Regions from separate parts of the Homo sapiens genome. Here region 2 is linked to region 1. The links are contacts of gene promoters, found by promoter capture Hi-C in blood cells and fetal thymus (Javierre and others, 2016). All regions are on one chromosome and are shown on one strand. Each heading gives the region's core, a stretch centred on a gene start or on the middle of the fragment in contact. The rest is flanking DNA. Distances are from core to core; before and after follow the strand shown.

Region 1 (7,038 bases), core at 3,354-5,853:
TCATTTGGTAAAAATTAGCATACCCACCATTCTTAGAAGCAATTCAGTTGTCTTCTAATACACTGCTCATTTGTGAATATTTTCTTTTCGAACAGGCAGATTTTCACTTGAAATATTGAACTGTAAGATTCACATCATAAGGGGCGATAAAGTCATATGCATTCTTAAATAAAAATAATAGCACATTCTTAAAAGGACATTTGTTTGTTTATTACTTAAATGGGTTTCAGCCACTAGCGTACATTTGGCACCAGTTGCTGTGTTTTGCTCTAGCCTGAGACTCTAATGCCTGAGCACTAGTTACTCCGGTTCTAAAAAGCTATGAATTTTGATATATAGCCTACGTTATGAAAGCTTACCTCTTTATGGCTTCAACCAGGTGAGTGTATGGCTCCGGGCTTTTCTTTTCTTTTTTTTTTTTTTTTTTTGAGACGGAGTCTCGCTCTGTCGCCCAGGCTGGAGTGCAGTGGCGGGATCTCGGCTCACTGCAAGCTCCGCCTCCCGGGTTCACGCCATTCTCCTGCCTCAGCCTCCCAAGGAGCTGGGACTACAGGCGCCCGCCACTACGCCCGGCTAATTTTTTGTATTTTTAGTAGAGACGGGGTTTCACCGTTTTAGCCGGGATGGTCTCGATCTCCTGACCTCGTGATCCGCCCGCCTCGGCCTCCCAAAGTGCTGGGATTACAGGCGTGAGCCACCGCGCCCGGCCCGGGCTTTTCTTTTAGGCTCTTTGACCTAGAGAAATGAAGCTTGGAACAGGGGATCTGCAGGCACTAACTTGTAGAGGAGAGTCCCAGAGGTGCAGGTATCATGCATTCAGTGAGCTGGGAAACTCTAGCCCGGGAACATGGAGTCACTAAGTCTTTCAATGTAGGAAAGGAGCCCCAACTGTTAAGGCAGCTAGCCAAGCAGGTGACAAACTGTTGCACTTCAAAGACAGGAAATCCCTTCAAACGTTAAATTGTAAGGACACAAAATGACCTACATTCAGGAAAATGGGGAGTCAGTAATTCCACATCAGGCTTGTTCCAGTTTATTGAAGCATGTCTGGTGGATATTAACTGGTCCTAAGGATCCCACTCTAAGTGAATGGCAGCCTTTTCCACCAGAAACCCACATTTTCAACATCTTATTTTTAAAAAGTCATTCGAGTTCACATCAGATTGAAGTTATTATGTAAGGACTCTCTCTGGGACAGTTTTCAACCCTAAAATTAGTCTAGTTTAAAATTACAATTACTCAGAATGTTTAAGAAATCTATGAACATGTTTAAAAAATCTTCTGAACATCAAAACTAAGAGAAGGCATCAGTCTACAGTGCAGTCTTAGAAAACAACTGATGGATTGCTTAAAATTGGAAAGACAGCCTAGAAGTGCCACAATATCAAGGCATAGGACTTCCTAGTAGTTTTACCCAGCTCAGAAGGCAAAGTCTAGATGGATTTCCTGCCAATCCCCAAAACTACCTAGGGCTGTGGATGCAGCAGTTTGAAACATGTGTCAATGCTAAATACTTGTCCAACTGGCTTGAAATAAAGGGAGGGCTGGGGGTGGGGATGGTTGAAGGGGGCAGAGAAATGGCATATGCTTTTCTCAAGGCAGGGCCTCTGTCCCCCAGCACTCGAAGAATTACTGAACAAATGTGTTAAGTGGGAAGGAAATGGATGGGTAAAAGCTAACTTCATCTCAGCACAAAAGAAGTTGTCCTTCCATGCTTACATTTTCAAAATGCAAAAATCCAAAAAGCATCGATATTGGAAAATTCTTGGGAAACTGAAAAGCTTAACCATATTCCATAATTTTATTAATTTAAGACCTTCCAAGCAGGGAGGTCAAACTTAACTCTGCTTCCAGCTTACAAAGCACGTCAACTTATTTTGTATGTATAGCTATAAACTGTTTGCAAGTTTCCTCAGTCAGGTACTCGGGATGAATTATGAATGGAATTAGCCAGCCTGACTTGGAATTTCCTCACTTTTACTGGTCTTTAAACAAGATTTTTATACATTCATATGTAATCGATGGAACCAACACATGAAATGGCCCTTCACATAAAACACTCTCTTTTAAAGTGATTTTGCAGTTAAGGAAACCTAAATATGAACTTCTGATGTGGAAAAGGTAGTTTTTATATGCTATTTAGAAACTGATCTGAAAAACTGATGAGCTGACCACAAGATTTCTGTCAGAAACTGAAATTAGGATTATATTTTAAAATACAATTGTAAATGCTTGCTTTCTTTTATAAAACCAATCTGCTTCTCATATTCCTAGCCTTAGTCACACTGAAAATACATAAATTTGGTATTTGGTTATTGAGTTTTGAAGTTGCAAGGCAGGATAATTTAGATATTCATAAATACAGAGCATAAGAAAATCCTTCCTGAGTGCAAAACTATCTTTAAAATAATCATCCAAAGGAGTGAATGCCACACCTCCTGATTTAATTTTGGCTATTAGCTATTCATTCCTTAATATACATTCTTCCACATAAAACTTGCACTGTCTTAAAACTTGCCTACAAACTGGCATGTCCAAATTGTGTGCATAAAAAATAAGATGAAGATCGATGCCAAGTTTTCAAGAAAGAAATGAATTTGGATTGTTTATTACACCAACAAGACACATGTTCAAATTTATCCCCTGTATATAAAAAGATTAGTATAAAATATTTCTCAATTGTTTATGCAGAAAGTAGTAGGGAACAAATTCCAATAATTTTTATCACATAGCTGATATAGCTAAATATTTGGAACCTTTAAAAGAAAAGTGCTAATTAAAATACATATAAATTTTTCAAAGTTTAAAAAGCAGTTGGAAAAATACTTCTACCACTTAGAACACAATTACCTGCACAGCTTAATAGTCTTATGGATTTCAGTAGTAAAATATGTTTAGAAACATCTTGTCTTTTCCATTCCCTCAAACACACAGTGGGCTGAGAATATAACTCTTCATAATATATTAAAAAGTATCCACCATCTTGAGAAAACTATATATTATGGTAATAATTTTTACATCTGATTATGCCATTTTTAGACTATGGAATATAGTTTCTGAATTCTTTTGGGGGGAGGGAAATGGTGTGGAAAAACTACTTTTAAAACGTGCTTCTATCTTCATTTAAAATGTATAAATTCTCAAGTTTCTTAACAAAAAACTTTGATCCCACTATTTTATATAGACTGCATTTATAGGCTTGGAAATCCTGTTCTCTCTATTAAACTCCTTAGACAGGATTATATTAATCTTACTTAAAAGAAAAAACTACTTACAGCAAACATGGCACTCAAAAGAATTAAAAATAATACTTGCAATATTTTAATATTTATGAAAATCTGTTTTTTGAAAGACAGATGAACTTAGAAATGTGAACACACAAAAAAATACAAGTATAAAGTTTCCTTTCGAAACTTTTCCTTTCAAAGAAATATTTATCCCACATTTCTACATGCAAAACTTTTAGTGTAAACTATTGAGAAAATCCTAAATAGTAAAACATTTGTTTCTGTAAGTCCATAAGCACTTGCTGTACATACTCAGAGGCAGCCCTGGCCCACTGTATCCGCAAATGCATCTGCAGGGGGAATGGTTCCAAGCCAGTCACTGAGTGTCATCTGTCCCTTCTCCAGGGGCAGGGACATTGAGTCACAATGAAATTTTATTATTTATATACATTATTTTAAATTCTGTTTTTCTTAGAGCTCAAAGCTTTGACAGTAAATGTCAAACCACACTGAAGTTGACTTGTTAGCTTTTGTAGCTAGCCTTACTGCTGTCGGCTATTTCAAATTGCAAATGACAATAAACAGGTGGTTTTTTCTTTTAATCACTAAAGAACATCCCTTTTCATATAGCTAATATAACAAAAAAGTCTAAAACATGGGCATATAATTCCCACTGTAAATTAATTATAATTATTTCAGGCTTAAGTATTAATAGTAAGTGAATTCTTTTCAAGAGATCCTTGGCGGTTCCATTTGCCCTTGAACATTAACCCTGCCACCTCAAAACTCAATGCCTTTGCACTTAGTCTAGAAAATTAAAAATACAACTCGTCCTCATCCTAGTAACCTGCGCAAGTCTCTACAAGAGACTGGAGGATCTACGTGGTAACTAACTTTAACTTACCTCTTCTAGGCTTTATTAACGAGTTTATCAAAAAATATTAACTTTCAGGCAAGATGTGGCTAATTCTTAAATGCAGCTTAAAACTTTCGACATCCCCTTGTAAAAATGATGCCACGAAATGTGCCACTGTCCATTTATTTCCCATTTCACTTAACGCATTAATATTGACCCTTCGGACAGCAGCGCTGGCATCATTTTGGAGCTGCAAAGCAAGACGTGGCGCGTTGATGAGCTAAAAAGGACCCGTCTTTCTCTGGGCCCCTTACCAACATCTCTCTCCCTAGAAGACAAATACTTTTCAGATCTCGCACCCCTCTTTACAAACCTGAGCGGGGCTTTCGGGGTAAGGGGAGGCAAGACTTTGGTGGGAGCTGCTCGTCTTCAGCAAAGCGAGGGCCGGCTGCAAAGGCGCAGGCTGGCAGTTCGGGTCATTTCCTGCCGATTCCCCATTCCCCTCGGAGCAGCTTGGAGAGGAAGTCGGACTTCTTTTCCAGGCGGAGCCTCCACGATGGGCGTGGGCGCCTCGTGCGTGGGCCGGGGGCCTCGTGCGTGGGCGGGGATCGGGGCCTGGGAAAAACGGGAACCCGGTACCCGCCCGCGCCCTCGCGCGTCGGCCAGGAACCTCGGCCCCATGCGGGCGGGCCAGCGCGGCCAGGAGGGCCGGGAAGAGGGGTCCCCGGGGCCCCGGATGCGCTGAACTCCGGGGAGGGGATGGGCAGGAGAGAGAGCACACTCCTGGAGCCGCGACGTCCAAACCCGGACGCACTTGAACCCGCAGCGAGGCCCGTGGCTCGCGGCCTTCGGAGAGCACCCGCGCCCCGCGCAGACCGGACGCCGGCCTTGCCCGATCCTCGGCATCCTTCGGCGGGGCGGCCAGTCCCAGGGCGCTCGCTGAGGGCCACACCCTGGCCCCAGAGTTTAGCACCGCCGCGGGCAGGGCGCTCCGCTCCCGGACCCCGAATCTGAAAGCGGAGACCAAGGGCTGCCTGCGGCAAAGCTCGACATACACTTGATTTTCTTCCGATTTGGAGAAAATGTCACGGGCGAGAGCAAAAAAAAAAAAAAAAAAAAAAAAAAAAACCCTAACTGTAAATATTATTTGGAGGTGGGCGAGGGCGCGGCGTGCGCGCGGCGGCGGGTGGCGGGCGGCGCGGGCGCCCTTGCGGGGATTCCCGGTCTCTCAGCGCGCCCTAGTGGACGCCCTGCCTTTCGCTGGCTCCCCGTGCTCGTTACAATCTGCAATATATTATTTCTTCCGAAGTATTGACAATGTGTGAGACTCCAGTAACCCCGGAGCTCTCGTCTGTAATCAGCACATTTATCCACATTTAAGGGGGAAAATCCGAATTAAATCCCCGTGACCCTGATTGGGTTACAGTGTCATTTTCCCTGGATCCTCTTTTAAATCCACTCCACACTGCTTCTCTGTCTATTACATGCTAATTTAATTTTACTGTGGAAGATATTTTCAGGATTTGCTGAGGACAGTAAATTTTGTAGTTTATGTTATTTCACTTTTTATGACTTTTTAACACTTAATAAAATTTTATTAGAGCACTTTTGTGTTTACAAGGCCACAAAACTCTTGGCAGGTTGTCAGAAGTCCTTTTTATTATGATCCTACTGATATACTGCGAGTAATGAAATAATCATGTCCAGAAATGTATCAAAGGCCAGAGGGATTATCCCACTTAATAGCTCCACAGATGCGCCCAGAAGAATGTGGACGCGCGACAGGACGGGCTGAAAGGCTGCAGGAGGAAGCAGGCAGCCCCGGCTCCTGGCTTTACCATTTCGGTTGCTTTCCTAAAAGGCTACATGCAGGGTCATGTGACTTTCCGCGGTCTCAATAAAAAAAAAAAAAAAAAAAAAAAAAAAGAATTTATTCTATTGCAAAATGTGCTTTTCTTTTTATACTCCTTGTGTGGGCATTTAAGACTGTTCTAGTGGCAGTGGGGTTGGCTGTACATATCCATGTCAGTCACCGCGCCCGGCCCCACTTTCTTCTCATTTCTAAGTGTACTTTTGTGGCATTTAAACTGCCGATGGTGACTTTGGTGTTGAGCGGTGTTGTTTCCACAGCCCACACTGAAGGCATTGGGAGGGACCCAGGAGGGCACAAGGTGTTTTAAGGCCCTTTCCCACCTGCCAAACACCTTTTGCTGTTGCTTTTTGGTTTTATTTTGTTTTGCGAAACCGGGGAATAGTGACTTAAGGACTCGGCTTTCTGCCTTGTGCCAGAGAGCCACAGTACACTGCTTTTATTTTTATTTTTTGGTAAGACTTGGCTATAGGAAGGACTGAGAATATAGCTTTCATTTCTTTTAAAAAACATTTCCTTTTCTTTTAAATAGATACGTGATCATTTAACACACGGGTGTTAAGTTCATTCTTGCTGCAAAAGAAGGCCATTGTACCTCCTGACCCTGAAAGCAAGGTGGGTGGCTTTGTTTTATAATTAAATTTTCTGTCTTCAGCTTCATATTTCTCTTTCTCTGTTATTTCCTAAAGAGTGTGTCAAAGTGATAAAAGAGGTGAGGAATGGACTCATAAACAGAGTGATTTTGAAATTACTGTTGGTGTATCCATAGCACGTGTTCTTCTAAACTTTGGCTTTTAAGGATTTCAGCAGGGTTTTTCACAAGCAAGTGTGTGTGTGTGTTTCATGTTCCAACATATCACATTAGGATTTTGTAATCTGTCACTGTTTAAAACAGCCTCTGGGAAGCGCGCCTCTCTCTGGATTGCCTCCATCACACGTGTGTTCTCTCCCATTCAGAAATACATAAGGCTGCTCATGATGCTCTTTGATTTCAACTTCAAGGAAGCAGTTTAGTTTTTTGTATGTCGTTTGCTAACCATGGACAAAATTTAGCACCTGGTCTAATAGTCTTCTGTGTGTCTGTG
Region 2 (7,038 bases), core at 1,829-4,328, 560 kb before region 1:
TCTCGGCTGCTCCGAAGAGACCCCTCGCTGCCATCGCAGAAAGGCTGGGCCAACCCTGAGGGCCCTCTCGCCTGGCCGTCCCTCCTCGGGTGCGAAATTAGGGGAGGAGGGTGTCGGGGTGTGCATCTCCAGGCTGCGGAGCTCCCGGGCATGAAAGCCAGGGCCGAACCCGAGAAAGCAGAAGTGCACGAGTTCGAAGTGGCCACTCGGCCAGCACTCCACAGAGCTGACCCATCCAAAGAGGGGAAAGACCTGCCTGGGAGAGACCCTAAAATGAGGTCGGGGTTGGGGGATAGGCCACCTCACCCCTGACCGCCTCTTCCGCCCGGACTGCAGTCACCCGAATAGCCTTCTGCCTGCCCAAGAGGAGCAGAATTGCTCAGGAACCCGGACTAGGGTCCTTCCTACCTACACAAATGCAGATCTACCTCCGTGGGTGCCCCATTATGGAACTGCAGTGTCACCCACACACCTCTCTTTGAAGGGAAGCCTTCTGGGGCAGCTTAGCGGAGTAGCTGAGAGCGTGAAACTCATGATCTGGGCAGTGCAATATTCAACTCTGGGAAAAGTGTTCATCCCACAGCCCAGTTTACCCCTCTGTAAAATGGGGATAATGATGGAAACTATTTCGTATGAGTGTGGTGAAAATTAAATGAGTTAATGTATGCTCTTGGCAGTACGTGGCATATGGAAAGTGCCAAAGTTTTATTTAACTGCCCTATTTTCACCAAGATTTTTTAAAATGGGGCAGAGGAATAGAAGGAGGTCCCAGAAAAACTCATTTTAATCCCTCCTGCCCTTCCGCAAAGCCTTCTGCCGTGGCCTCTGACTTTTTTATTTTTACTTTTCTCCAGAGAGAACTTAAGTTAGGCCTCATGAACAGGGAGGGCAAACCAGGCCTGCTTGGGGGTCGGGGTCGGGGTCGGGATTGGGGTGGGGTTGCAGATGAGATATCTGAGGCCAAGCCCTGCCCTCCTGTAGCTTCCACTCCAGAGTTGAACCTGGGCTAACTCTTCTCCCACACAAAGTTGTCAAACCGAGCAGGATATCCGCAGAGATTCGCCAACCGTCTTGGCATGAAGGTGGAAACAACGGGTCACCGCCGCCCTGAATCAGCTCCTGCCAAAGGGCTCATTAAATCCCCCTCCAGAGCCCCCATCCCAGGACTAAGTAAGTCATTTGCTGGTCTGGCTTGGATGAACCAAGGATCGCAGGAGGCTGCCTGTGTGCCTACCCGTCCCCCCGCCCGAGTCCCCTAGTGGGCGAACGCTGGGCCGGGCACGGTATCTCCCTGGCGAGCACAGCCTGAACCCAAGGCTGGTTTTGAGGTGGCAGTTAATTACTAGCCCGGAAAGCCGAAGCCCCGGAGCCGATGTCTGGGCTGACAGGGTTCCCTCCTCAGCCTCGGGGCAGTCAGACGATTCCTAACAACTTCTCCCAAGGAGGTAGATCCCTGTTTATCAACCAGCACACCCCGTCGGCCCTTTTCTTTGGTAAACACTCTTTAAACAAACAGCCCATCCGCCCTGTTATTGCCAAAGCTGCTCAGAGCTTTAATAAAAGCCCAGGGAAGATCAGAACCCGCGTCCAAGGCTGCTGCTTAATCCAATGAAGGCAATTTCCGAGGATAATTGCGAACATGTTTTAATGCATATGCATGAAAAAGGATTTTTTTTCTGAGAGACCAACTTTACATGCTTATGTAATTGATTGAGGCGCTGACCCGCTATTCAAAATGTTATTTGAGAACCATCACAATGCGTAAACTTGCAAATTGCCCAGCTTGTATCTGAATTAATACCTCATTCATCATCATTATGGGTTGATAAGTTAATTTAACCATTTCATTCTGCCTTAATGAGCTATAGTTAAATTAATGCCACATAATATATGAAAGTAACATTTAAATAGAAGCACTGGGCTGAGACAAGCCGAGGCTGCTGCTATTTGGGCTGAAATAAGGTGACATAAATCTTTTCTTCATTACAGGACCCAGTCTGCTCTACCAGCAGTTATGAAGTATTTATTCATTCACTTTCTTTTGCGAAGTTGCTTTGCCAAATAGCATAGGTAAATTATGTGAGCTTGTAAATAATGCCTGAGGATGTATTTATTAAAATAAGATTGGGGTGGAGGTGGGAGAATCTATAAAAAGCATTTTCACAGCATGCTTTCCCATCGCTCCAGGAAAACCAAGACCCCCACTGCCAGCCCTCCCCAACTTGGCTGGGAATACCACAGGGTCTGGAGGTCACTGGTTTTACTCCAAAGTGCCTGCTCTGAGTTCAAACCTCAGAAACACCAGCCTGCCCCTTTTCTCGTTTGCAGACTGGACTATCCTCCCAACCCACCCCCGCCACCACCCCTCCTCCCCTGGGTTTCCGTCACAGGCAGAGACACCTTGATTCTGGTTTTCCTAAGTCAGGGATGATGAGCTTAGTTGTGGATACTTTGCAAATTGGTGTAAAGGAAGCTGGAAGAGAGGGTGACCCTTCCCACCTCAGAAGTGGTTCAGGAAGCTTCCATGAGATTCTTTGGACCCAGACCTTAGGTCAGAGAAGCTGAGGTGAGAGTGGCTCCAAAGAAAGAGAAGGGATCAGGCCAAAAGGTCACTGAAGAAAGGGGAGGTGCCCCCAGGAGCCATAACCCCCTACATTTCTCCCTCTCTACTCCCAAGCCAGTCTTTTATTGGGATAAGTTATTTAAACTCAAGGGGAGTCTCTCCATCTGAGAGGGGGTGAGACAGGGCAGGCTTCGTGGGTGGGGATCTTTGTAGTCACACAGGGTGATGGGCTTAAAAGCCACCCCCCAGCTTGATTTGATGTTCTGTTGTTGCCCTCTTGAAATTCCTAATAACTTTTGAACAAGGGGCCCACATGTTCATTTTGCACTGGGACCAAAAATTGTGCAGCCAGTCCTAGGTGGAAAAAGAGGAAAGGAAAAGAGACTGACTTCTCATGACCACTGCAGGGCTCTATGTCCCCTTCTTTGGTTCCTTATGAGAGGAAACTCAGAATGCTACTTGAAAGTAGATCCCCACTTCTGATCAAATCATGGCTCATAACATTAACAGACAAATTATAGCGTGAGCCCTACGCTGCTCTCCAGGGTCTCCAGGTGTAGGCCTTTGATGACTGGGGTTTGGGAGAGCTGCCAATAAAGGTTCAGCCTAAAACCAAAATGCACTCCAGCTTCTGACCTGATCGGCCTAGGAAAAACGCTCAGGGCCTTGGCAAAGGAAAAGGTCACTTTCCTTCCTCAGAAAGCCCAGGAAAGGGACTCAAGTTTTAGCGGGAGGGAGAGTTATAAGTCTTCCTTTAGCGGATTCAGGATGGGTAGGATTGAAAGGACACCTTTCCTGGAATCCATAGCAGACTGAAGAATTTTGAGTTTGGAGCTGTGTGTAAGTAAGTAGATTTTTACAAAGGTAAATTTCTTTGCTTGTTCTTTTTGCACCTAAAAATCCAGGACACCGGAGCATTATGGGAAGAAAAAGAAATACAATTTATGGAAGAGAAGTAACAAGAGGAAAACCCTTACCATATATTTAGTCTTCATAACTTATTTAATTGCAGAGGGTAGCGATTGTTTCATCAAATGTTTCATATTTCTGAGTTTGGAGGGCGGGGATGCCAGGGTAAGCTTCCTCCGAGCGACTAAGGAGCAGCAACAAGCTCTGGAATTTCCTCTCGGGGTGGTCCGTTCCACCTTAAATAACTTGGGCTTTTTGGTCCCAAACGCGCCCTGTAGTTCAGGTTTTTTTGTCCTCCCTGCAGCAGCTGTCACCCTGCATTACTCGCAGTCAGCTAAATGAAACATTATTCTAAACATATGCATCGTAATCAGTTCGGTCACACTTACAAGAACACGCGTTAATAAGGCAATCAATCACCCTGGAACAAGCAAGTTGTTCTGTAACAGCTCATAAACAGTGTGTAATGAAGAATTGGAGGTTACCGTGACATGCGTTGATCAGATAATCAATGTCAAAGATGCGATGAATGTCAGTAAATGTAGTTTTCATGTCGTTTCTATAAAATCTTCAATTTACAACAAGCAGTTCAATTACCCAGAAAATACAGTCAATTAAATAGGGGTGATTGGACAGTAGGGGGGTGGATCATCGATCTTTGCATTTCTATCTCGCTAGTGGACATTTAATTTGGTTTTTCCATTAGCGACGAAATAAAGAAAATATAAAATATATTAAACAACCTACAGATTTATTTTCTTGTCAAAAACAATTCGGGCTTGATGACAGACAGTCTTCTGCATTTTATGATGAATTATTTTTTCATTCTTTGCACACTCGAGACAAAAAAAATGCTGTTATTTTGGACAGGGTTTTTTGGCCACTGTCTTTTTCCGTTTGCTGGCCCATCTATCTCAATGCTTTTGTTTTTAAGGGTTACAACCCCCGAGTTAGCAAAGAGCACCGAAAACCAGGGTGATACATCACCAGTCCAAATGTGCTGCTATAATCGTATTTCTTTAATGGGGGAGTTCAAGAAAAGAGAGAAGGGGAAAGAGAGAAAAGAATTTATCGAGGGGGAGGGAACCCTTGGGATTACTTCAGTATATATTTAACCAACCTGCAATTAAAGACGGTATCAGCTTGTATCATTTAGAGCTAATGCAATAATAATGGTAAATTACAGGCCAAAATGGCTTGTGATCGCAGCCTCTGTATTCCCAGTAGTGTCCTCATCGTTGTAATTAATGCCAGGGTGAGCAGTTGGAAAAAGAAAATTTCGAGGAAGGGACATCTTGGTTTTTAAATCGAATAGACTGCTTTGCACACACCATTGACTCTTGCATTTTGCCATCGAAATATCGATTTTAAGACAGATCTGTAAATACACGAAGAGGTGGACTGAACTCGGGAAAGAAGATAGGATTGGGAAAGAAAAACAGGGCTGAAGTACCAAAGCAAAAGAAAGAAGGAAGAGGGGAAATCATATTTTTAAATATCCAGTTGCTTGAAATACTCATAGCCAATTTGGTAAAATGTTCACAGCATCCTTTATCCTCAGCAAACAGAAACACTACTTAAGTTTGAAGAATGTGCTGTACACCCCTAAAAGAGACCAAAGGAGATGGAACTAGTAAGGGAGGGCTGAGCTTGAAGAGGGCTGAGCTCCTATTAAGAGTGAACTTTTTCCTTGAATTAAATATTAATATTTACTTCATAAGTGGGAGAATAAAAGTGGGCAAGTTAATTAGATAGAGGAATTAATTTTGTTTACCTTTGTAGTACTGCAAACATAAACAGCTCCTAACCCTGTGTACACACTCCCTATATATATGACGGCACGTCCTCTACCATGTGTATCGACACACACACTACTCCTAAACACTCTTATCTGTTTAGCCAGCCAATTAACGTTAAACCAATGTTTGGAAGAGTGCATGTCTCCTATAAACATGAGTAATGTATTTGCCATAAAAATAATGATTAGAATGAATTAATCCATCTGATATGTGTATTATATGGATTTAAACATGTTGTTTTAAGAGATTCTCATAACCCTGGATGCCACAGTTAAAAACGAACACTAGCACAAACCATTTTGCAATCTCTTAAACAAATAAAACTGCCTTGATTTAAATAACATTTATTTTACATGACCAAACACAATAAATAACGTAATATACAAGGCTTTATAATTATTGCACATTTGTAAAATATCTTACAGTGAGTTCATACATCCAGCAATATTTAAAGCACGAAGACTTTATTTACAATTTTATTTCAATATAATAACCAGATCCAATGGACCCAACAAATGATGAATTTATGTTAATTTTACCAACCAGCGTTCTCATCAATCATATATATTTTTTGGGGGAAATGTAAACATTACTGCCTAAAGTACCTTATATACATCTGTTAGCTGATCATAACAAAGGACTTTAACAATCTAAATAGGTAAAGCTGATAAAGGGTACCATATTTTGGTTTATTTTATTTAGCCTTAAATTATATATTAATATTTTTAAAAATGTAAACTCAGTGAATAAGAGCTGGTATAATCAATATTTTACATAAGTAGTCTCATGTTTTTAAAAACAAAAACAAAAACTTAAGTTTTAGATCATTGCTATTTCATTGGAAAGTTCTCTAATATTTTATGGTAATATTTTAATAGACCCCAGGAATTTCGAAATACTGTTTCCCCTTTATGTATTTTCCATTTGATGGAAATAATTTCTCCTGGAAAACTAATTCTTTCAAAAGTTTACTGAAAGCCTATATTTAGGAAATGATATTTTAAAATCCAGTGTCTTTAAAATAACAATATGATGGCAGGACACAAATCTGAAATAAACCACAGAAAATAGTGCCAATGTGTATGTATACATGAATATGTGTGTATCTCTTACATATGTATTTAAGAGCACGGATATATATATGCATATACATACATATACATATATATACACATACACAAACACATGTAGGTAGCCTACCTACATTTTAATACACGTACACACACATACCCACTTCGCTGGGTCTAAACATGCACTAGCAAGTTATTTTAGGGCTTCAACTCTTCAGAAAATCTCATTATGTGAGGAGCCAAGTGGCTCTGCGGGGAGCATTATGGAAATATCTGGGCTTGATTTAATGAGGCTGTTCACACTGGTGGAATATCAACTTAACAGAGAAAAGTCTACCCAGGGCGTCCAAGTTACCAAAATGAAAATCGGCAATTGAGATGATAAGAACGTGGCTTTCTTCTGCGAAATCACTTCAGGTAACAGAGATAACATTAAATAACATACATTCTATGCACCAAGAACAATGTTTTATGTACCGAGTCTCTTATCCGTCTCTCCTAATGACTTCCCTTAGCGGGTTGTTAGTACTTGACAGCAGGTCTCCGTGCGGGGAACTTTTCTCCAATTCCACATTCAAAGGAGGTCCATCAGAGAGCATGATTGGCAATTTTCGTCATAATCTGCACATTATTAGCATCAAACTTGACGTGGCAGTTAACACTAGTGGGTTTTGATGTACCTTTCTTCAAGTTCAAG

The links. Contacts are between HindIII fragments. The CHiCAGO score rates a contact against its expected background, and 5 or more counts as called.
Region 2: a fragment that was not itself captured here is called in contact with the fragment with the promoter of LINC01116 in region 1 in 4 of 17 cell types (fetal thymus, naive B cells, total CD8 T cells and 1 more); the score reaches 13.1 in fetal thymus.

The regions. Positions count from the first base shown.
Region 1 is chr2:176,633,006-176,640,043 of GRCh38, forward strand. It overlaps LINC01116 (long intergenic non-protein coding RNA 1116), which reads right to left and starts at 4,604. Exons shown (of 5, transcript NR_188023.1): 1 at 4,457-4,604; 2 at 28-120. LINC01117 (long intergenic non-protein coding RNA 1117) reads left to right here and starts at 4,749. Exons shown (of 4, transcript NR_110599.1): 1 at 4,749-5,003; 2 at 6,486-6,568. RefSeq lists a silencer at 5,214-5,263 and an enhancer at 5,424-5,938. The HindIII fragment of the contact is 4,643 bases long and covers 3,710-7,038 here.
Region 2 is chr2:176,071,873-176,078,910 of GRCh38, forward strand. EVX2 (even-skipped homeobox 2) reads right to left here. Exons shown (of 3, transcript NM_001080458.2): 3 at 5,600-7,038. Among named protein-coding and RNA genes, the nearest start is that of EVX2, 8.6 kb to the right of the region's middle. RefSeq lists enhancers at 798-1,298, 3,470-4,810. The HindIII fragment of the contact is 1,123 bases long and covers 2,518-3,640 here.